Linked DNA regions of Homo sapiens: regions 2, 3, 4, 5 and 6 are each linked to region 1. The links are contacts of gene promoters, found by promoter capture Hi-C in blood cells and fetal thymus (Javierre and others, 2016). All regions are on one chromosome and are shown on one strand. Each heading gives the region's core, a stretch centred on a gene start or on the middle of the fragment in contact. The rest is flanking DNA. Distances are from core to core; before and after follow the strand shown.

The links. The method cuts DNA at HindIII sites, captures the fragments that hold promoters and counts their contacts. A CHiCAGO score of 5 or more calls a contact.
Region 2: a fragment that was not itself captured here is called in contact with the fragment with the promoter of TMEM164 in region 1 in 2 of 17 cell types (naive B cells and M2 macrophages); the score reaches 7.3 in naive B cells.
Region 3: a fragment that was not itself captured here is called in contact with the fragment with the promoter of TMEM164 in region 1 in 5 of 17 cell types (total B cells, naive B cells, neutrophils and 2 more); the score reaches 7.4 in total B cells.
Region 4: a fragment that was not itself captured here is called in contact with the fragment with the promoter of TMEM164 in region 1 in 1 of 17 cell types (non-activated CD4 T cells); the score reaches 6.6 in non-activated CD4 T cells.
Region 5: a fragment that was not itself captured here is called in contact with the fragment with the promoter of TMEM164 in region 1 in 1 of 17 cell types (neutrophils); the score reaches 5.1 in neutrophils.
Region 6: a contact is called between a fragment that was not itself captured here and the fragment with the promoter of TMEM164 in region 1, in 1 of 17 cell types (neutrophils). The highest score is 7.4, in neutrophils.

Annotation. Positions count from the first base shown.
Region 1 is chrX:110,001,783-110,005,225 of GRCh38, forward strand. It overlaps TMEM164 (transmembrane protein 164), which reads left to right and starts at 1,332. Exons shown (of 7, transcript NM_032227.4): 1 at 1,332-1,396; 2 at 1,719-2,382. The coding sequence starts at 1,993. RefSeq lists a silencer at 577-1,436 and an enhancer at 1,539-2,194. The HindIII fragment of the contact is 10,429 bases long and covers 1-3,443 here.
Region 2 is chrX:110,416,305-110,420,093 of GRCh38, forward strand. All of the region lies in intron 1 of RTL9 (retrotransposon Gag like 9), which reads left to right. It also overlaps a transcript of AMMECR1 not described here. Among named protein-coding and RNA genes, the nearest start is that of RTL9, 59 kb to the left of the region's middle. RefSeq lists an enhancer at 2,024-2,524. The HindIII fragment of the contact is 704 bases long and covers 982-1,685 here.
Region 3 is chrX:109,703,929-109,707,617 of GRCh38, forward strand. The region is part of intron 1 of ACSL4 (acyl-CoA synthetase long chain family member 4); the gene reads right to left. Among named protein-coding and RNA genes, the nearest start is that of ACSL4, 27 kb to the right of the region's middle. The HindIII fragment of the contact is 190 bases long and covers 1,566-1,755 here.
Region 4 is chrX:109,538,325-109,541,615 of GRCh38, forward strand. NXT2 (nuclear transport factor 2 like export factor 2) reads left to right here. Exons shown (of 4, transcript NM_001242617.2): 3 at 3,151-3,291. Among named protein-coding and RNA genes, the nearest start is that of NXT2, 3.1 kb to the left of the region's middle. The HindIII fragment of the contact is 7,526 bases long and covers 1-3,291 here.
Region 5 is chrX:109,503,072-109,506,527 of GRCh38, forward strand. No RefSeq gene overlaps it. Among named protein-coding and RNA genes, the nearest start is that of GUCY2F, 23 kb to the left of the region's middle. The HindIII fragment of the contact is 413 bases long and covers 1,822-2,234 here.
Region 6 is chrX:109,630,974-109,634,517 of GRCh38, forward strand. No RefSeq gene overlaps it. Among named protein-coding and RNA genes, the nearest start is that of KCNE5, 7.6 kb to the left of the region's middle. The HindIII fragment of the contact is 5,756 bases long and covers 1-3,544 here.

The DNA of each region.
Region 1 (3,443 bases), core at 82-2,581:
CAACTGCTCTGGGGAGGGGGAAGGGGGGAAGAGGGGGAGGGAAAGAGGTCACGGGAAGCCTCCCTTCCTCCCACTGGCCTACCATTGAAGGCCTGTCAGGAGAAAGGAGAGAAGTGGGAGAGGGAGAGGGTGTGGCAGGGGTGGTCTGTGTGGCAAGAGGTAGAGAGAAAATAGTGGATCAGAGCAGGAGGGGGAGGAGCAGGGAAATGAAGCTCCTGTCCTAGGCACTGAAGTGTGGAGTGGGGCTGTGGCTAGAAAGGGGAGAGAAGATGCCTTTCTGGCCTTGCATGAGTCGTGGCAGAAAGGAGGAATCGCGAAGAGGAGCCGGCCATACCCAGCACACACCCCGAAGCCAAGCTGCTCATTACTAGAAAGGCTTATTCCCCCACAAGAAGTTAGTGCGGGCCAGCTAAGTGCCTACTATGTGTGCAGTATAGAAAGAAGTGCCCTGGAGAACCAGGTCGCGGGAGGCGGAGCCAGTCAACAGGGCTTCACCGAGGGGGCGAATTCTGTACACGGTTGTGAAGGAGGGTGGCTGTGCACGCGTGCAGGCTCCGAGTGCAGAAGACGAGGCAGGCCAGGGAGGAGGCGGAAGGAGGCGGAGCCTGAGCCGGAGGAGGGAGGAGGAGGGAGGAGGAGGAGGGAGAGCCGAAGCCGCGGAGGGTGGGAGGTGTGAATGGTGGACGGGTGAGGGGAGTGCCAGAGGCAGAAAAGGGAAGGAGGCGAGGAGGAGTAGTCGTGGCCCGAGGGCGTGTGGTGGGGCGAGAGCTGAACTGGACGGGAGGAGGGAGGCAGTGGCGGTGGCAGCGGGGAGGGGGAGGAGAGAGGGAGGGGAAGAAGGAGGAAGCGAGCGCGGCTGCTGCAGGGGGAGGAAGACGGGGAGGAGGAGCCGTGCGCCGCGGCGGCGGCCGCCAGGGGAACCGAGCGCCCGGCGCGGAGAGCGCGGGAGCGGAGCAGTAGCCCGATCCGGGGCCGCGGGCCGAGCTGCCGGTGAGTGAAGCCCCGAGGGGCGCGGCGGCCGGTCCCCGGGGCTGGGCGGGAGGCGCGGGAGGTTGCGGCGCCGGGGAGGAGGGAGGGGGGCCGGCTTTAGTCCAGGGGCCGGCTTTAGTCCAGCCCCCGGCTGGCCCGGCCTCCCGCCTTCCCTCTGGCTTCCTCCCTCCGCTGCCTGCGCGAGGGGGGCAGGTCCCGGGCGGGCCGCGGGCTGGGGGTGGTGCTGCCCGGAGGGCGGGCGTCTAGGGCCGGAGGGTGGAGCTGGGGGTTCGGGGGTGTACCCGGGGGCGGGAGGCTGGACAAGGACGGCTCTAAATTGGCTGGAGGGGCCCGTCGGCGGCGAAGTTGCTAGCTGGGGGCAGAGACGGCCACGCGGTTGCAGGAGTAAGAGATCCCTCTGTGGCGAGTGCGTGAGACGAGGAGTCCGGCGTCCCTGCCATCCCCGTCGCCCTCCCCGCCTGCTCGGCCCCGCTAGCTCCTCTCCTTGCCTCCGCGTGTCCCCTAGCTCTGACCCCTTTTGGCTCCCGGTTCGCTGCCGCAGCACTGCCGGGTCTCCTTGGCCCCCGCCCTGACCCTTTCGGCCTCCGGCTTCCCCTGACCCCTGCTTGCTTCGCCACTGCCCCGTTCCCGTTTTCTTCCCTCGCTAGTTACCCCTCCCGCTTCCTAATTCCCGGTGCAATTGCCTCTTTGAGACCTCTTTTTTTTTTTTTTCCTCTCCTTCCTTTTAGATTGGCCAACGGCTCCTTTCAACCCTGCCTCGTTGGTGGCCACTGGAGAAGCGCGGGGGGCTCCCCCAGACAGCCGTGGGGACAAGTTAGAGCCAGCACTTTACCCCGGGCCTTGCGTGTAGCTTCCCCTCCCCTACTCTCGGTGCCCTGGTGTCTGGAGGGGGGTTGTGGGGGTGTGCCCGCCTTACATGGTCCACCACCCGGGCAACCCTCTGGGCTTGTGTTCCATCTCACTCTTGCTTCCTGTACTGTGGTCAAGGGGAACCACTGCATCATGTCCCGGTATAGCTACCAGAGTCTCCTGGACTGGCTCTATGGGGGCGTGGACCCCAGTTTTGCAGGCAATGGGGGCCCCGACTGTGCTGCCTTCCTCTCTTGGCAGCAGCGGCTGCTGGAAAGTGTGGTGGTCCTGACCCTGGCTCTGTTGGAGATCCTGGTGGCCCTGCGGCACATCCTGAGGCAGACGAAGGAGGACGGTAGGGGTAGCCCTGGCAGCCAGCCAGAGCAGGTGACCCAGCGGCCAGAGGAAGGCAAGGAGAGCCTGAGCAAGAATCTGCTCTTAGTAGCCCTGTGCCTGACCTTCGGGGTGGAGGTGGGCTTTAAGTTCGCCACCAAGACCGTCATCTACCTGCTCAACCCCTGTCACCTGGTCACCATGATGCATGTGAGTCTGTTGACTTTTTCCTGGGCATCCTAAGTGATAAGAGTCATTTATGTGCTCAGGACACTCCATAGTGTACAGCACCTCATCCCGGCGGGCAGGGGGACCTTTAAAAATGATTTTCCAACGAGTGGCTGCCTTTGTGCCGATTTCAGGTTTGGCTTTCTTTCACCTTTGCACAGTGCGTCAGCCCCACAGTGGAGGTGAGGAACCTTGTGCCTGAACCCTAGGAACGACTGGCACTCACCCTGGCTGCCCCTCCCTTCCAGCCCAGCCCAACCCTGCCGTGCCCTGGGCTTTCACAAGCAGGAATTCCAGCCCCAGCCAGGTGCCCTTTCTGAATCACATCAGTGGACCATGACCCAGCTCCCTTGCCTTCTGTGGTAGTTAATTTCCCAGGGGCCTGGTGACACTCTTTCCTGGAGGTGGTCGCATAAACTTTCTCATCTACACTGTGGTACTTTGGGGAAATACTTTTACAGGTTTCTCTTAATGACTCTTTCATTTGGGAGTGTATGCTCTTAGAGTGAGGTCTGCCTTTGCATTTTGAGGCATTGGAGCAGCACCAAGCTCCTACTAAATGAGTTCTGAAGCAGGTCCCCAGGCTGACATGTGTACTTTGGGCTGGTGATCACTATGGTGAGAGGGTATTTCTTTTTTTGCAAACCTCTCCATCCTATTACTGTCATTCTGTCTCCTATGGTCATAGTCCAAGGGTGCTTAGGAAGCTGATTTCTTTACCTCATCGACTTCCACCCATTAGCGGTGCTAAGGAAAACAAATGGGATTGAAAAGGCAAGTTGCCAGATACATAAAAATAATCTGGGTGAGGACCAAGAGTGAGACTGTCTGTATTCAGCCTGTGTGGAGAGATGTTCTAAAGCTATAAAATCATGGAGGAGGAGGAAGAGGAGACTGGGAGAGCAATCAGTCTTTTTTAGATTTCAGGCTGTGGAAAACCGGGTGTGTTTTATTCAGGGGCAGTTTTGAAACCTGTCATTAGCATCTTTACTGCCTTTATGTTTGTAGAAGGTTATTCTTTGGAGACTTGTGACAGCCTAGCT
Region 2 (3,789 bases), core at 84-2,583, 410 kb after region 1:
AAAGGGACAGAGGTATGTATTTATTTTGATTTAACGAACCGTTGTTTAATGTTTACCATGTCCCGGGCACATGGTAACTGCTTTAAAAATGTTAGATTATTTACTTCTCATAGACAACCCTGTGAGGAGGTACTATTATTAATATCATATGACAGGTGGGAAAATGGAGGCACAGGGGTGTTGAATCACTTGCCCGGGGTCACTCAGGCTAGCATGTGACAGAGCTAGAGTTACAATCCAAGTGGCCATGTTCAGGTGTGTGGCCCATTACCTTGACTCTGTGCTGGTTAGCATGCTACCCCCTGTGCCCTGTCTGCATAGCTCTGGCTCAGAAACACTGAAGACATGGGCCTCTTTTTGTAGTTTTGTAACAGATTTGTACTTTTTAAAGTATTTTCCACCATTAAAGCCATACGCTCTGCTTCTAAGCGTCCTGTGGGGTTGGTGGGAAGGGTGAAAACATACTCCTGTCCTTCTATAGCAAGACTAGCTTAGAGGCAAGGTGGCCCAGTGGTTAGAGCATGCCCATGGTGCCAGTGAACTCAGCTTCAAATCCTGGCCTTATGATTTCAGAGCTGAACCTCTCTGAATGTCTGTATCACTATCTTTGCTAAAGGAAGAGGAAGCTTTCTCCCGATATCTTCATTTACTTCCAATTTTCGGTTTTTGGGGGAGAGCTGGGTTTCCTCCACAGCTAGGCGCTGGGTGGCGAAGGGCTTTTGGACTGTCACTACTTTTCATTCGACAGAGACTTCAGGATAGCCCCCTTCAAAGGCAGTCTGTTTGGGGTCATCAGGAACAGACAGAGTGCTCTTCCCTACCGCACTCATCCCACCTAGTGCCATCTATCCTTACCCACTCTGAATCCCTCCTCTCGGCAGGCACTGCCTCATTCCCCAGAGCCAGGCCTAGACAATGGCGGCTGCTCAGCTTGGAGGGAGGGGGAGTGAAGAGGCAGCAGGCCCAACCTGCCAGCTTGAAAGCTTCATTTGACAGGGGAGGAGGCACATCTGGTTTGGGTTTTCAATTCAATTCAACAATGATTTATTGTGGGTCTGCCAGCTGCAGAGGTTCTGGGCTAGGCTAGGCAGCAAGAGATGCAAAGATAAGTAAAATATTGTCTGTGCCCTTAAAGGAGTTTTCTAGGTTGTAGGGGTGTGCAGACGCAAATGAGCATTTTTTTTTTATGCGATAAGCCCTGTGCTTAGCAGTTTACCTTGCCTACATTATTATGTCTTTGCATCTTCCCAGCAGGTTTTGTGATGGAGGTGGGTAAACTATTATCACTTCATTTTATACACATGAGGAAACAGAGCCTCAGAGTGGAAGAGACTGGCCCAAGGTCACATTTTTAAGAATGGACCAAACCAGTTCTGGAACTATTACATTCTTCTGCTCCCCAGAGGTGATGAAGATGATGATGATGACAAAAAACACTTACTGAGCTCTGGAGGCCAAGTCTTGTGCTATGCAGGCTGCAGATATTATTTTACTGGCAACTTCCAACATCCCATTGAGGCTGATGTTGTTATCCCTTTTTCTAGAAGAGAAAACGGAGGTAGCCTTGGGAAGTGATGGAGTTGGAATTTGAAACCAGGTCATTCCAGTCCACCAGCCTGTACCATAAAAGAGGTAGACACAGGGTGCCATGTTCAGGGGCAAGAGCAATGAATTGTGCCTGCAAAAGCTTCATGCCAGAGATGGCATTTACATTTGGCCTTGAAGGGTGAGATGGGGTTATGATTGGTAGAGTTGGGAGAGAGGGCATCCCAGTCAGAAGGGATATTCTGAGCAAAGAACCCAAAGAGATGACTTGTGGAGCATTTTGATTGAGAGGCTGTAGGTTCATCCGGCATGCAGGCCGGGGACTCTGGGTGTAGAGGAACAATGTGAAGGAAACCAGAGATACGCCTGATGGTCTAACACATTTTTGTCAAGTTGAGGTTCTTATTTTTTTAATTAAGAGCAGGTACTCTGCCCCAAAGGCTTTTCAAATGATACTATCTTGCAACCCATGAGCAAACACACTCGAGTCTCTCACTGTGTAAATTCTACTGTGCTGAGAGCTGCGGTGAATACAAAAGAAAACAACTCAATTCCTCAAGTGTGTGCCGATGGCCCCCGTGTGGTTGAGGAGGCAAGATACACACAATCAGGAAAAGCAGCAGCTAGCATAGGCAGTTAGTGATCAGGGCCAAATGAGTTTTTCCAGCCGTCAGATTTCAAGGAACATGAACGAGAGGAAGGCCGGCAAGCTTAAGGCCGGGTGGGGCAATCAGTGTAGCTAGCATTAAGGGCTCTGGCCAGGCCTCCCTTCCCCAAACTGCCACGGTCTCCAACCATGTCTTGACCTCCCAGAGTTTGTTAGGGAAGATGGGACCTTATGGGATCAGAGACAGCGCATGGGAGCTGGGAAACGGAGCCGAATACCTGATATTCCTGATCCTCCAATTTTCTACACTTATTCTCATTTCCTGGCAGCTCCTCCAGCTGCTGAATTGTATGTGTATGTGTGAGCCGTATTTTAAATTAAGCAGTGAGTTCTTTCAGCTCATCATAAACATGCTAAAAAGCTTCAGCCGCGGCCTGAGCCCACCCCCGCCCTTTACACACACAGGCAGCAGCTGGGGCCACTCGACCCCACACTCTAATGTGCATTGCCTATGACTCACCAACAAAAACGACTGTATGTTTCAGTCTCCCTGGGTAGCTGATTCCTAGTTGTGGTGGGAAATCTCAGTCCGATTTGGAAGGCAAAGGGCCTCAGCCCCGCCCTACTGACTGTGAATTCTACAACATATGGAGCGCCTACCTTGTGCAAGGCATTGTGGGTAAGTCCATTCATCTCTCTGGGCTTTCCATTTCCTCAGCTTCAAAATGCATGTACTAATCCTGCCGGCTTTACCTCCCTCCTAGGGCTCTGTGTCTCAGCCACACTGGTCTTTCAATTTCTGCAACATTCTCGGTCTTTTCTCGCCCCAGGGCCTTTGTTCGTGCTCCTGCCTGGACTGCCCTTCCTCTTGCTTTTGGCATGGAAGGCTCCTTCCTAACCTTTCAGTCTCAGCTTAACGTTACCTCCTGAGAAGAGCCTTCTCTGACCACCCACAGTTAGATGCCTCCTGTTCCTCTCTTACATTTCTTTTATTAGCAATGCTTCCTTAACCCCATTTACTGCTCTGGGTAATTATGTCTATTTATATTTGTCTATTTATGGTATGTCTCTCCCACTGGAATGTAAGCTCCAAGAGGACAGGGACCTTGTCTGTGTCACTCAGCAATGTGTCCCTCTCCTCTAGAGTGGTGCTTGGCACATAGTAGGCTGACATAAGCAAAACCATCTGGAAAATATTTTCTTCCTGAGGTTCTTGCCAGACATATGGTTGCTGAGGGAAAAATTATGGCAGAACTGTGTCATTCCATAGGAAAAAAAATCAGGCTAAAAGGGAAGAGTTTGTTGAAAACAGTTCTGTTTTAGAAACCAGTCCTTGGAGTCTCATCGCCAGACACAGTCTTATGAAATTAAACAAAAGAAATAAAAAGCATAAAAAGCTAAGTTTTTATTGGGTATTTACTATGTGCCAGGAACTGTTCTAAGTGTTCTACACAGATTATCTCATTTAATCCTCATCATAACCCAATGACGTCAACTCTATTATTAGCTCCATTTAACAGATGAAGGAATTGAGGCTCTGGGATGTTAAGAAAAGTGCCCAAGGTCACACAGCTAGCAAGAGACAGAACCAAAAGTTGAACTCAAGGCAGTCTGAGTCCAAGTCCACAAACTAAATC
Region 3 (3,689 bases), core at 411-2,910, 300 kb before region 1:
AAATTCACTATGTCTGAATTTCTTAGACATATTAGATAAATATTGTGGGGTTTTTTTGTTGTTGTTGGCTGTTTGTTTTTTAGTTTTAAGTAGTAAAATATATCTCCTTTATGGCTTCTGGGTCATTTTCCCACTTCAAGACTATAAAATTATTCCCTCGCATTTCTTAGAAGTATGATTATTAGGTCACAGATCTTATAAACTATGCCATATTCACATTCTCTGATACCTTCTTGCTTGAGATACCAAACTGCATATCCATGACAACAGTCATATTTCCTTGCATAGATAAATATGCAGTATTCTGATAGTTTTCACTTTATCCATTTTGAAGCAATGTTTATTTTTATTTTTCTTACTTAAATAAGGTAAACATTACAGCAAATAAGCAATGCTTATTTATCTTAGACCCATTCTCTTCATCTAAACTCAAAGACAGAGTCTAGTTTGAATGCCAAGAGAAATAGTCCAATCTTAGCTAATAATTCTATTATCATTCATTTTGTTACATAAATTCTCCCCCATGATTAGTATGAAGATATATAAATACGATGTAGATCTATCAAGTGCCTAATGAACTGCAAGCACACAAATTTCACTCCTTACATACCAAGTTGTAGACTCTCAGAACCAAAATAGGCTTTAAAGTAAAGATAATGAGCTTGTCTCTAAAAAAGAAACACTTCTCTTGGGCAAACCTGGAGGACACTATGCTAAGTGAAATAAGCTAGACACAGAAGGACAAATACTACATTACACCATTTATAAAAGGAAACTAAAAAGAGTCAAACTCATAGAAGCAGAGAGCAGAATGGTGGTGACCAGGGGCTGGGTAGAGGGAGAAACAGGATGGTATTAGTCAAATGATACAAAGTTTCAGTTATGAAAGATGAAGAAGTCCCAGAGATCTACTGTACAGCATGGTGCCTATAGTTAACAATACTGCATTGTGTATTTTAAAATTTGCTAATAGGGTATATCTTATTTTAAGTGTTTTCATCTCTCTCTCTCTCACACACACACACACACACACAAATAACAATACATAAGAGGGCAGGAGGAAACTTTTGGAAGTGATGGATGGGTTTATGGCATAGATTGTGGTGATGATTCTCTCCGAACTCATTGAGTTGTATACATTCCATCTTTACAGCTTTTTGTATGTCAATCCTACCACAATAAAATGGTTTTAAAAAATGAGGGATGGGTCATTAATTATTGTCCATTTTTGGTGCCAATAGTTTTCAAAGGCAACTTTTTAATTATATAGGTGTAATCATTCTCTAGGGAAAAATGAATACAAATTAGAGTGTGCACACAGATGTTTCCAAATGAATCCATCCATCTCTCTTTAGGAAGTCTCTGCAGTGTACATTTCTTAGGACAGTTTTGCTTAAGGAAGTTTAGCTTGTTCTGCTACCAGTGACAGAGAGCAGGATAAAAGACACAGGGAACCAGTGAGATGCCTACTAAAATAAGAAATGGAAGATGCTCAAAGACAAACATTGCCTGGTTTGACATTTTGTCTGTGTGGTTTATTCTGCCTATTTGCTTCCTTTACCTGAAGCTTAACTGAAATCTCCGGTTTCTGAACCATACTTTTTATCTCGGCTTTGAAATTCAGTTTAAATATGTACCTTTTGGGAAATTGTTGCTATTTATTTTTTTAACCACAAACCCACCCATCCTTCATATTTAGTGACAAATAGAAGCTATTAAAACACTAGAGGGATTTTCAATATCTGATCCAAGGAAAGCTTTTTTAAATGCCAGAAAGTTCCTTTGAGAGGTGGAGTTTTGCTTTTGTTGCCCAGGCTGGAGTGCAATGGCACGATCTTGGCTCACCACAACCTCCACCTCCCGGGTTCAAGCGATTCTCCTGCCTCAGCCTCCCGTGTAGCTAGGATTACAGGCATGCACCACCATGCCTGGCTAATTTTGTATTTTTAGTAGAGACGGGGTTTCTCCATGTTGGTCAGGCTGGTCTCAAACTCCCGACCTCAGGTGATCCACCCGTCTCAGCCTCCCAAAGTGCTAGGATTACAGGCGTAAGCCATGGCGCCAGGCCCCATTTACTTTTTAGCAACAATGTTTAAATCTTGACTTTTGAATAGGGGTATATACTAGCTTAAAATAACTTACTATAACACAAATAAATTATGGAGTGAAGTTCTAGGTTGACATTAAAATTTATTCATCTACTCTTTACCTTCTTCACAGAGGTTGTAAGAATTTTAAAAATTGAATACAATGATAACTGTAAAATAATTTTAAAAAGAAAGAAACAGTTCCCCCCACTCCATGACTAAGAAGCTAAAATAGGGTCTGCTTTCTAGAACATTAAGAAAGCACCCTATGTGCTTCCCTCTATACTAAAGTTAGGAAATTCTTTCTAATCAGTTATAATTACAGCTTTACTCTTAAGATCATCTTGAGACTAGATAAAAGATGAATGTGAGAGTATGAAAAAACAACAAGAATGCACACCATTCCTTTTCCTTCAGTTACCTAGAATTAAATTAGCAGCAGTATCAACAGGGAAAGCACATTCTGTTTATGAGCTCTCAATATATCAATTGCATTTAAATTAGAATTTTTCAAAGTCATAAAAATCAACTGATAATACTTTTTGAGGTCCACACCTAAGAAACAGCTTGATTATCATGAAACAACTACTGGGGAAAAAACTTTCAACATATGAAAATTGCTGTCACACTGATAATTCTTGACTCTGAATTAAGAATCTTACGATACTGATTTTTAAATATTTTGGACAAACAGATTACATAACAGCAAACACTGACCTTACCACAACTCTCCTTTCCAAGTTTAGTCAAGAAGTGTGTTGATACATGGATGAATCTGAATTTACAAGGCATTCATTAAAATACTACAGACCTGAACAATACTTGAAGAAAGTGATTGTTACCTTAAGTGTTCTTAACCAGAAAGTACTCTTGTGTAACAATCAAGACTTCCCACAAAATTTGTACAATTTTTGCCAGAATGTATGTTTTGTTTTTGTTTTTTAAAATGGCAAAAACATAAGTCTTACACACAGAGAAATGCCTAACGTAATGAGCAGAAAGTACATATGGAATTACAACTTTAGGAGAAAAAAATAGCACTTTCCTCTACATTAGAGACTGATAAAAGTATTTCAGAAAGGAAAAATATATTTTTAGAAACATAGACCCTTAGAGTTAAAATATGGTCCGTTTAGACAATTCTCAAAGTACCAGCTGGAGTTACCAGTTCCTTGCAGTACTACTACTTATAATATTGCATCCTTATTTTAATTCCTGCCATGAATAACTTTTATTTACTAAAACAGATAGCAATGCACTGGGGGTCCATAAAAACTAGTGCCAATTAAGAATAAAGAAATTACTCAGTGCTGCCAAAAGTATACAAAAAGGCACTTTATATACTGTTGACAAAAGTAGAAATTAGTACATGCTAAATAGAAAATAACTTGGTAATATGTGACAACAGGCCTTCAGTTATACTTCCTGCACTTGTAATTTCACTTTCTATTTCTGGGAATATCCTAAAGCCACAGTTCTCAAACTTTCGGGCACCAGAGACCAGAGGCGGAGCTCAGGCAGAAATGCTCACTTGTCGCTCACCTCCTGCTGTGCAGCACAGCTCCTAACAGGCCATGGACCAGTACCGGTCCATGGTCTGGG
Region 4 (3,291 bases), core at 13-2,512, 460 kb before region 1:
ACTTTTACCTAGTTCTTTGACCTGGAGCAAGTTGCCATTTTCCCTTAACCTCATTTTATTTTCAGGTTGGTAAGTATGAATTAATTAAAATACCGCACTTAACATTAGGCCCAGCATATTTTCTTAAATATGTTTCCTTTTCTTAGTTCCATCAATTAACCAATATGGTTAAGGTATTATTAGTGCTAATGAAGGGGTGGGTCATTACGGGGAATATTTCCTGATTCGCCCCTTTTATTTCATATATTTATAGATAATTTCTGATCATGGCTCAAAAGTATAGCTTACACCCACAAAAAGTATGCATGTAGCATGGATAATATTAAGTCCTCAACAGACCGAGATTTCATCAGCTTTTTCATTGCAACTTATCCCTGCACCATATCTTTTACGTAATTATGTCAGTATGTGGTCAAGTGAGTCTTGCCTAGGTCTCTTACCAGCATAGAACTGTGCTTTGGAGAACTACTTCTGTCCTGCAGCTGCAAAAGTTAATACCCTATCTCTAAAAACCTATTTTTTATATAAAACCCATTTATTAAGCATAGGATTTTATATATATATATACTTTAAGTTCTGGGATACATGTGCAGAATGTGCAGGTTTGTTACATAGGTATACACGTGCCAAGGTGGTTTGCTGCACCCATCAACCCGTCATCTACATTAGGTATTTCTCCTAATGCTATCCCTCCTCTAGCCCCCCACCCCCTGACAGGCCCAGGTGTGTGATGTTCCCTTCCCTGTGTCCATGTGTTCTCATTATTCAACTCCTACTTATGAGTGAAAACATAACTGTGTTTGGTTTTCTGTCCCTGTGTTAGTTTGCTGAGAATGATGGTTTCCAACTTCATCCATGTCCCTGCAAAGAACAGGAACTCATCCTTTTTTATGGCTGCATAGTATTCCATGGTGTATATGTGCCACATTTTCTTTATCCAGTCTAACATTGATGGGCATTTGGGTTGGTTCCAAGTCTTTGCTATTGTGAATAGTGCCACAATAAACATATGTGTGCATGTGTCTTTATAGTAGAATCATTTATAATACTTTGGGTATATACCCAGTAATGGGATTGCTGGGTCAAATGGTATTTCTGGTTCTAGTTCCTTGAAAAATGGCCACACTGTCTTCTATAATGGTTGAACTAATTTACATTCCCACCCACAGTGTAAAAGCATTCCTATTTCTCCACATCCTCTCCAGCATCTGTTGTTTCCTGACTTTTTAATGATTGCCATTCTGACTGGCGTGAGATGGTATCTCATTGTGGTTTTGATTTGCACTTCTCTAATGACCAGTGATGATGAGGATTTTTTCATATGTTTGCTGGCCACTTCTTCTTTTGAGAAGTGTCTGTTCATATCCTTTGCCCACTTTTTGATGGGGTTGTTTTTTCTTGTAAATTTGTTTAAGTTCCTGTAGATTTGGAAATTAATAGATTGCAAAAATTTTTTCCCATTCTGTAGGCTGCCTGTTCACTCTGATGATAGTTTCTTTTGCTGTGCAGAAGCTGTTTAGTTTAATTAGATCCCATTTGTCAATTTTGGTTTTTATTGCCATTGCTTTTGGTGTTTTAGTCATGAACTCTTTGCCCATGCCTGTGTCCTGAATGATATTGCCTAGGTTTATGGTTTTGGGTGTTACGTTTAAGTGTTTAATCCATCTTGAGTTAATTTTTGTATAAAGTGTAAGGAAGGGGTCCAGTTTCAGTTTTCTGCATATGACTAGCCAGTTTTCCCAGCACCATTTATTAAATAGGGAATCCTTTCCCCATTGCTTGTTTTTGTCAGGTGAAAACCAATTTTTTAAGGCAAAAGATAAAAGAAGTTTCTTGTACTGATATTTGATGTCAGGGAAAAGGGTTGTGACAATGGATGTTTATTGTGCCTTGCCTTGAATGTGTATTGTACCTTACTGCTTTCAAAAAATAAAGTAGAAAAAAAAAGACAACATTGTTTATTACCAGTGTCAATATATGTGTTGACCTTTTTTTTTATTTTTATTTATTTATTTTTTTTTGAGATGGTGTCTCACTCTGTCACCCAGGTTGGAGTGCAGTGGCGCGATCTTGGCTAACTGCAACCTCTGCCTCCCGGGTTCAAGCGATTCTCCTGCCTCAGCCTCCCAAGTAGCTGGGATTACAGGCAACTGCCACCACGCCCGGCTAATTTTTGTAGTTTTAGTAGAGATGGGGTTTCACCATCTTGACCAGGCTGGTCTTGAACTCCTTACCTCATGATCCACCCGCCTCAGCCTCCCAAAGTGCTGGTATTATAGGCGTGAGCCACCATGCCTGCCTGGCCTTTTAACCCAAGTTACATTATAGAATTAAGCTAATAGTGTGTCTTGTGACCCCAGAGTTTTAACTGTGGAATTTCTGCCTCATTTGGGCCTTAACTTATTTGACTTATCGAAGTCTCTGCTTTAGCAAGTACTCATGATTCTTTTGAACTAAGTACACTAATAGAGTAGTACTATAGCCGAGCATGGTATGACATGCCTGTAACCCCAGCTACTTGGGAGGCTGAGGCAAGAGGATTTCTTGACCCCAAGAGTTTGAGACCAGCCTGAGGCAACAGAGCAGGACCCTGTCTCAATTTTTTTAAAAAACAGAATAATTTTTAAGAAAACATAAACCTCTTCTCTAAAAAGTGGGAGTAGTGAACTAATTCTTTCTAACACATGCAAATATTAAATGTTTCATATATATATATAGCCACTAGCATTAAAGGGTACAGGTAGGGCTTGATCAAAAACTTTGTTAATTCTCATAATTACAAAAGGAAGACACACTAAAACTGGCTTGGGGCTGCATTTGCTTGGAATTTGTGATCATTTAATTCATTTGAATACAGAAAGCAGAACTTAATTGGGTGGAAGGTTTTATTGTGTCTAAAGTGAAATATGAAAAAATATATTTTACTGCCTAGTTTATAAAGAGTAAGGTGATATTTATTTAAGGCCAAGATTATAAGACAGACGTTTTGTTCACATGGGTTTCCAGTGGAGATGGAGCAAGGGGAGTGGAGATGAAGGTAGAACTACAAAAAATGTTTATATACCATCTGTAATATTTTAATCCATTTCTATAAAATGTTTATCTAGAAACAGAATTATTTCCCTTTTTTAAATTTGTCTTTCTTTTTAGGCACTAACCAGGCTGTATCTGGACAAGGCCACCTTAATATGGAATGGAAATGCTGTTTCAGGGCTGGATGCCCTAAATAATTTTTTTGACACATTGCCTTCTAGTGAGTTCCAGGTCAATATGTTAGATTGCCAACCAGTT
Region 5 (3,456 bases), core at 778-3,277, 500 kb before region 1:
CCTGACCTAGCAGAAAAGCAGGAGAGAGAACTCACTCCCAGCAGCCCTTTTTATAGCAGCATTAATTCATTCACAAAGTCAGAACCCTCATAACCTAAACACCTTCAATTAGATCCTACCTCTCAATACTGTTACAGTAGGAATTAAGTTTCCAACACATGCGTTTTGGAGGAAACAAAAACATTTAAACCACAGCAATTGTTCATAGGGAAATTTCCATGAGGCCATAGGAGTATGTTTCAGGAGAAATTGGTAAAGTACCAGGAGCAAGTACCATAGGAGTCTTGAATAACCTGCTCAAGTGGATGCCTTTCAGACCTGCTTGTGCCCAGTCTTGTATATATCACTTCAATTTTATAGCAGGACACTGATGAATATATTCATTTGATGATTCAGTTAATCAGTTAACACACCCGGTTTATAAGGAGAAGTTCAGGTCATATAGTTTCCTTATGTCACGTAGTCAGGAATTCAGTTCCTGCCAGGGTCTAATAGCAAGCTAGGAGCTGACTTTCAAACAGAGAATTGTTGTCAGTCAAGGAGAGCATGGACTTACTCCAAGCATTTGGTCTGCAATGTGATATTTTTATTGGAGATTTCCAGAGACATCATTCAGAAACTTTGTCTTCTGTAGACTCGTCCTTATTATTATTCTTCTAGTCATAAGGTCAAAGTGGCAGCACAGCTTGCCCCACTGTTGGGACCCTTTTCTGCACTGGGCCTTTCTTTAGTACCTAATTAAACATGCTCAAATATAGTGCATATTGCCTTCAAAATCTGAAAAGGCCCACCAAACATTAAGCCTTTTTCTTTACGGTGAGCCGTGTAAAGTGCAGCAACTTTCCTTTTAGAAGGATATCTCAAGATGCTTGAAACGGGACCCCTAGAAACTTCATCTACATGGGAGGATCTTGAACTATGTCCCACCATATATATGAACATATCTTACTAAGGTATCTAGTTTTATTTCTACTTCCTGATCATCAAATCTGATTAGCATAATATTGTCAATTTAATAGAACAATAATGATCTGTGAGATATCAAGATGGACAAGATCCCTCTCAACTATATTATGATAAAGAATAGGAAAATTAGAATAGATCTGGAAACAATACAGTCATCCCTACTTCTGATTTTCATTACTGAGAGGAATGGGAATAGGAAGCAATTTCCAAGTCAACAGCTGTATACAACAGGCCAGAATCTGTGTTGATTTGCCTTAGTAAAAATACCACATCCAGAACTGGAGCTGTGGTTGGCATCATCACCAGAATAAGTCCGTAACAATTTGCTGTCATTATCCACAACCTATCTCACTTTTGTACCAGTTAATTAGATGAGTTAAATGGAGATGAGGTAGAAGTTATCACCCCTGCATCTCTCTAGTCTTATCTCTGCAGTTCCTCCAGAGATATGGTATTGCTTTTGGTTTATTGTCTTTGAGTGGGATGAAGGGAATTTCCAAGGGCTTTTACTTGGCCACTGCCCACCGTAAGAGACCTCATCCTTCAGGTGGGGACAAGGTAGAGATTCTGCCAGTTACTAAGTATATATGTTCATACTATACGTTTAATGTCTATAGAAATAACCACTGAATGGATCCCTTGTTCCAATGGATCAGAGCCAGTACATAATAGATAATTTTAAAATTCTGGTATGTTTCTTTCCCCACTGCACAGTCCCCTTAGTACATGGCTGAAGGCCACTTTGGGAAAAGCTTAGGGTAAGATTGACAGTATATACATATGGCCATATTATAGGGTGCTTCTTCAAAAGGATGCAACCACCTCTCCATTTAAGAAGCTCCAAGTCTATTAACAAGCTTAAGTCTAAGAACTAGGCAAGAGGCTGTGAATTGCCATTGTTTTGATTCAAGTTAGATTTTTGTCCAACAGACCTAAAATTTTTCCACATGTATCAAACAAGCAGCATTTTAATAGGCTGCCCATATATTTCACTTTGAGGGATCTGTTACCAATTAGCTACCACAGTTCTCTCCATTCCAGAATATTCGAGTTGCCATTATGCCACTGTGGCTTACTGTGATAATTGTATTCCCTTATTTCTAATGGTTAGGTGTCACCATCTGTGTTCTATAATTCCAAAAATCCATTATTCCCAAAATGATCAGAGAATCCAGTTCCACTACATCATGGACTCCTTCTACAGTGCATTCAGGATGTTCAAATATTTTTGCCTTATTAACTAGGCCATGATTGATATACTGAGATTAAGCTTTGATTAGTCATCCTGGTGGACCACTAATGACAATCCCAAGTGCAGTCATGCATCACATAATGACAGGGATATGTTCTGAAAAATGCATTATCAGACAATTTCATCATTGTGCAAGCATCATAGAGTGTACGTACTCAAACCTAGATGTATAGCCTACTACGCACCTGGGGTACATGGGATAGCATACTGTTTAGGCTACACGCTTGTCCTGCATATTACAGTACTGATTCCTATAGGCAACTGTAACACATAATAGTAAGTATTTTTGTATCAAAACATATCTAAACCTAGAAAAGCATCAGCAAAAGTGCAATATAAAATATAAAATATGGTAAACCTGTATAGGGCACTTATCATGACTGGAGTTTGCAGGAAAGGAAGTTGTTCTGGGTGAGTCAGTGAGTGAATGTTGAGTGAATGTGACAGCCTAAGACATTACTGTATACTACTGTAGACTTTATAAACACTGTACACTTAGGCTACACTAAATTTGTAAAAAAAAATAAATAAATAAGGTAACTACATTATGATGTTACAATGGCTATAACATCACTGGGCGATAGGAATTTTTGGTTCCATTATAATTTTTATTTAATTTTTTTTTAGAGTCTCACACTATCACCCAGGCTAGAGTGCAGTTGTGTGATCACAGCTCACTGCAGCCTCGACCTCCTGGGCTCAATTGATACTTCCACCTCATTCTCCTGAGTAGCCAGGACTACAGACACACACTACCATGACGGGATAATTTTTTTTTAATTTTTTGTAGAGAATGGGGTCCCAGTATATTGCCCAGGCTGGTCTTGAACTCCTGAGCTCAAGTGATCCTCCTGCCTCAGCCTCCAAAAGTGCTGGGATTACAGGTGAGAGCCACCATGCCTGGCTTCCATTATAATCTTATAGAACCACCACCATATATGAGGTTTGTCATTGCCCAAAACATCATGATGCAGAGCATGACTGTACTTGAGTACTATCATATTCAATCCTGAATCTTGGGAGAGTGAACCTCTGTCAATATATCTTACATTTCCTCCCCTTGATCTAACATTTATAATGTGATAAATACATGAGTAAGCTAAAATAGTGACTATGTGAAACAATATCTAATTCATGGGATCAAAAATATAGTAAAAAATGCTGGACAATGAATACATATAAGTCAGAGTGGAATGATCAGAATTAAAATGTTCTATGGTCCTTGTATTGTTTGGGAG
Region 6 (3,544 bases), core at 625-3,124, 370 kb before region 1:
CCTACAGACCTCATGAGGGCAGGTGCTGTGTTCTTCCTCTTTGTACCCCTCACCATGCCTGGCACAGTGCCTGGCACATAATATGTGCTCAGGAAATTTTTACCTAGGTCTGAGGTCTGCCTTCCCGTAATGAAACTTACCAACTTTGAAAAAGATTCACTCTGTGGGGACTGTGAAACTTTGAAGTTACATTTTTCCAAAAAAAAGTATATATTGTGTAAAATTTCAAACATATAGCGACATTGACAGAATTTTACAGAGGATATCTAGTAACCACCTAGATTCTACCACTAATATTTTCCTATACTGGCTTTATTCATCCCTCACCTATCCACTCCTCCCTCTATCTATTTGTCTATTCATTATCTTTTTTTTTTTTGAAGTTGCATACATCAGTATGCACTTCACTCCTAAGCACTTTCTCCATACCTATCATTAACTATAGTCCAATATTTGTTTATTATTCTTTTTTCCTTTTGAAGTAAAATATACATACAATGAGATATATAAATATTAACTGCATATTTTCTGAGTTTTGGTAAATGTAACCCCTACTAAGATAAAGACTACTACTCAAGAACATGTCCTCTCATCCTTTCATAGGCAATCCTCTCCCTTCACTCCCAGAGGCAGCCACTGTTTTTTTTCCGTCATTGATTAGTTTTGCCTGTTATAGAAGCTCATATATATGGAATCATAAGGCATGGACTTTTTTGAATAAGACTTACTTTACTCAGCTTAATGTTTTTGAGGCTCATGCTAATACATGATACATAATGATACATAATTCACATATATGATACATAAATCATGACACATGCTGTTGCGAGTATCAGTAGTTTGTTCCTTTTTATTACTGAGTGGTACTCCACTGTGTGACCATACCACAGTTTGTTTATCCATTCTCCTACTGATGAACACTTGGTCTGTTTCCAACTTCTGGCTATTAAAAATAAAGCTGCTCTAAATGTTCTCATATAATTCCTTTTGTGGACATATGTTTTCCTTTTTCTTGGGTAAATACCTAGGTGTGGAAATGCTGGGTCATGGGAAAGATGTACTTTAGTTTTATAAGAAATTGCCAGACATTTTCCCAAAGTGGCTTGTATCATTTTAGACTCCCACCAACAGTGTGAGAGGATTCCCATTGTTTATGGTTACTTGTGCAGCTCTCTGCTTCAATTGCATACTTAGCCTTGCAGTGCACCCATGAAATGCATTTATCATTATACTTATAAAAGGGCCAAGCCTGACTGTTTGTGGCTTAGTACTTAAAACTTCCCCCAATTTTGATGACTACTAAATGAACACCCAAGCTCTAGGAAATTGCTACATTGTGAGGGTAAGCTCTATGTGATAATAGCTTTTACTGAAAGTGACAAACACTGTGTTAAACACTTTACATACATTATCTCACCTAATCCTTAACAACAACCCTCTGAGGTAGGTAAAACAGTATTCCTATTATACAGATGAGGAAATTAAGTTGCAGAGAGGTTAAGTAACTTGTCCAAATTCGATTGGCTCATAGGTGGTCAAGCTGAGATTTGAACCAGAGGTCAGTTATCTTTTTTATTGTCTACTGTCCTTTGTATAGAAACTATCAGGGAAAATAAAACATTTCAGGGTTGGAAGTCTCATCTAACCCTCTTATTGTAAAGGCGGAGCTACTGAGGTCCAGAGAGGAGAAGGGACTTGCCTGAAGTCTCTCATTAGTTAATGGCAGAGCCATCAGACTGCCTCGCAGTCAGGAGACGTTTTCACTCCACTGCACGGCCTCCTCCAATGCTTTGGGCAATTCAGATTTTATTTCCAGCTTTGTAATGGTGACAAGGGTGCAAAAACCACTTTGAGATCTTTGAAATAAGTACATGAATCTAAAAGGGTGGAGTGAAATAAGGTCAATCTTGCCTTTTGGGCCAAAACATAAAGTCATAAATAAAATTATCAAACTCATGTCAATTCCTGCCTAAACATTATCTTGAAAATGTTTCTCCCACCCACTCAGGCTTCTCTGGAAAAGAAAAAAGAAAAACAAAGAAACAAAAATGCGGATATTTGGAGTATTCTTGGGAAAGGAGTGGGAAAGGAAGAGGTCCGAGGGCACTTTTCTTTTGGACTCCCACAGCACCATCTGGTGGAGGACTGGAGTTTTCATTTCTCCTCATTCAGAATGTTTTTCTTTTCTTTTAATTCATATGTCTTTATTTATTTATTTTTAGGTTTTTATATATACTTTAAGTTCTGGGGTACATGTGCACAATGTGCAGGTTTGTTACATAGGTATACATGTGCCATGTTGATTTGCTGCACCCATTTTATCTTTGCTCCAGTTTCCTCGATTGTAAAATGGAGATAATAACCATGCGCTTACCATAGGATTTTGTGGCAAGGATTGAATAAGATAACTTATGTAAAGTACTGAACATAATGCCTGGAACATGTGAAATGCTCAATAATGTTGGCTGTGGTTGTTTCATTAACATTAAACGTATGGTGCAGTGGGAACCAGAGAGGAGCATTTGACTCAACCTCAGAGAGCTCAGGGCACATTTCCCTAAGGATGTGACACCTGACATAAGTTTTGAGTATGAAATAGTCACTAGGATCATTTCTCCATGTGGAAAACAATGCCTGTAACAACAGGGTTTACTCCTCTAATCCCACATTGTGAAGGATGACAGCATAGTGTTCCTTTGCCTCTGGGGTACCAGGGATTGCAGCGAGGGCTTCTAAGCTACAAGATGGTATGGGAACATTTAGGAATTATTGGAATTAGTCCCCTGACCACGTGAGACATTGTTTCCATAGTGGACACACAGAGTTTGACTTGAAATTAGATGCTAAGAGAAACATGGTTGTGTCGATTACCACCTGTTTGTTCTAATTTCTACTTTGCTTGTCAGCAATGATGCTTCAGTGGCTCTTTATTCACTCAGCATTATGTTAAATAGGCATGATGGGATCTGATAATTTCTCATTGCCTCCAAATTGTGCCTGGCATACACCACAAACATATTTGACTCTATTCCTATTGCTCATCACCCTTGCAAACCCTTAACCCTTCCAGGTTATCCAAATTTTACTCATCCTTCAAGGCCTAGACTTCCTCATTCATTCATTCATGAAATATTTTCTGAGCATGTACTATGTGCTAGGCACAGTGGCAGGCACTAGATCTATAACAGCATATGAGACAGACACAGTTTCTACTTTGACAGAGCCTGTGTAACTTGGACTACAAACAGGAAAACAAATCATTGAGACCATGTGCTACCAAAGCTCTCCAAGAAGAGGGATACATCTGAAATGGTGCTTTCTAACAGTTTTTACCACATAGCACACATAGATAACATATATTGGCTCCCTGGGATAAATGGATAAAAAAGCAACCTGCCAGGGAGCTCTGGCCACCCCAAAGGCAGAAGGCATCAATATCTTAGGTGCATGAGGAATCTCTTGGAGATCTCTGGTATAGAACCTCAAGCTATAACCCGTGAAATTCCTGTTGCTTTCACCCCATGTAGTCCATGAGGACCGATAG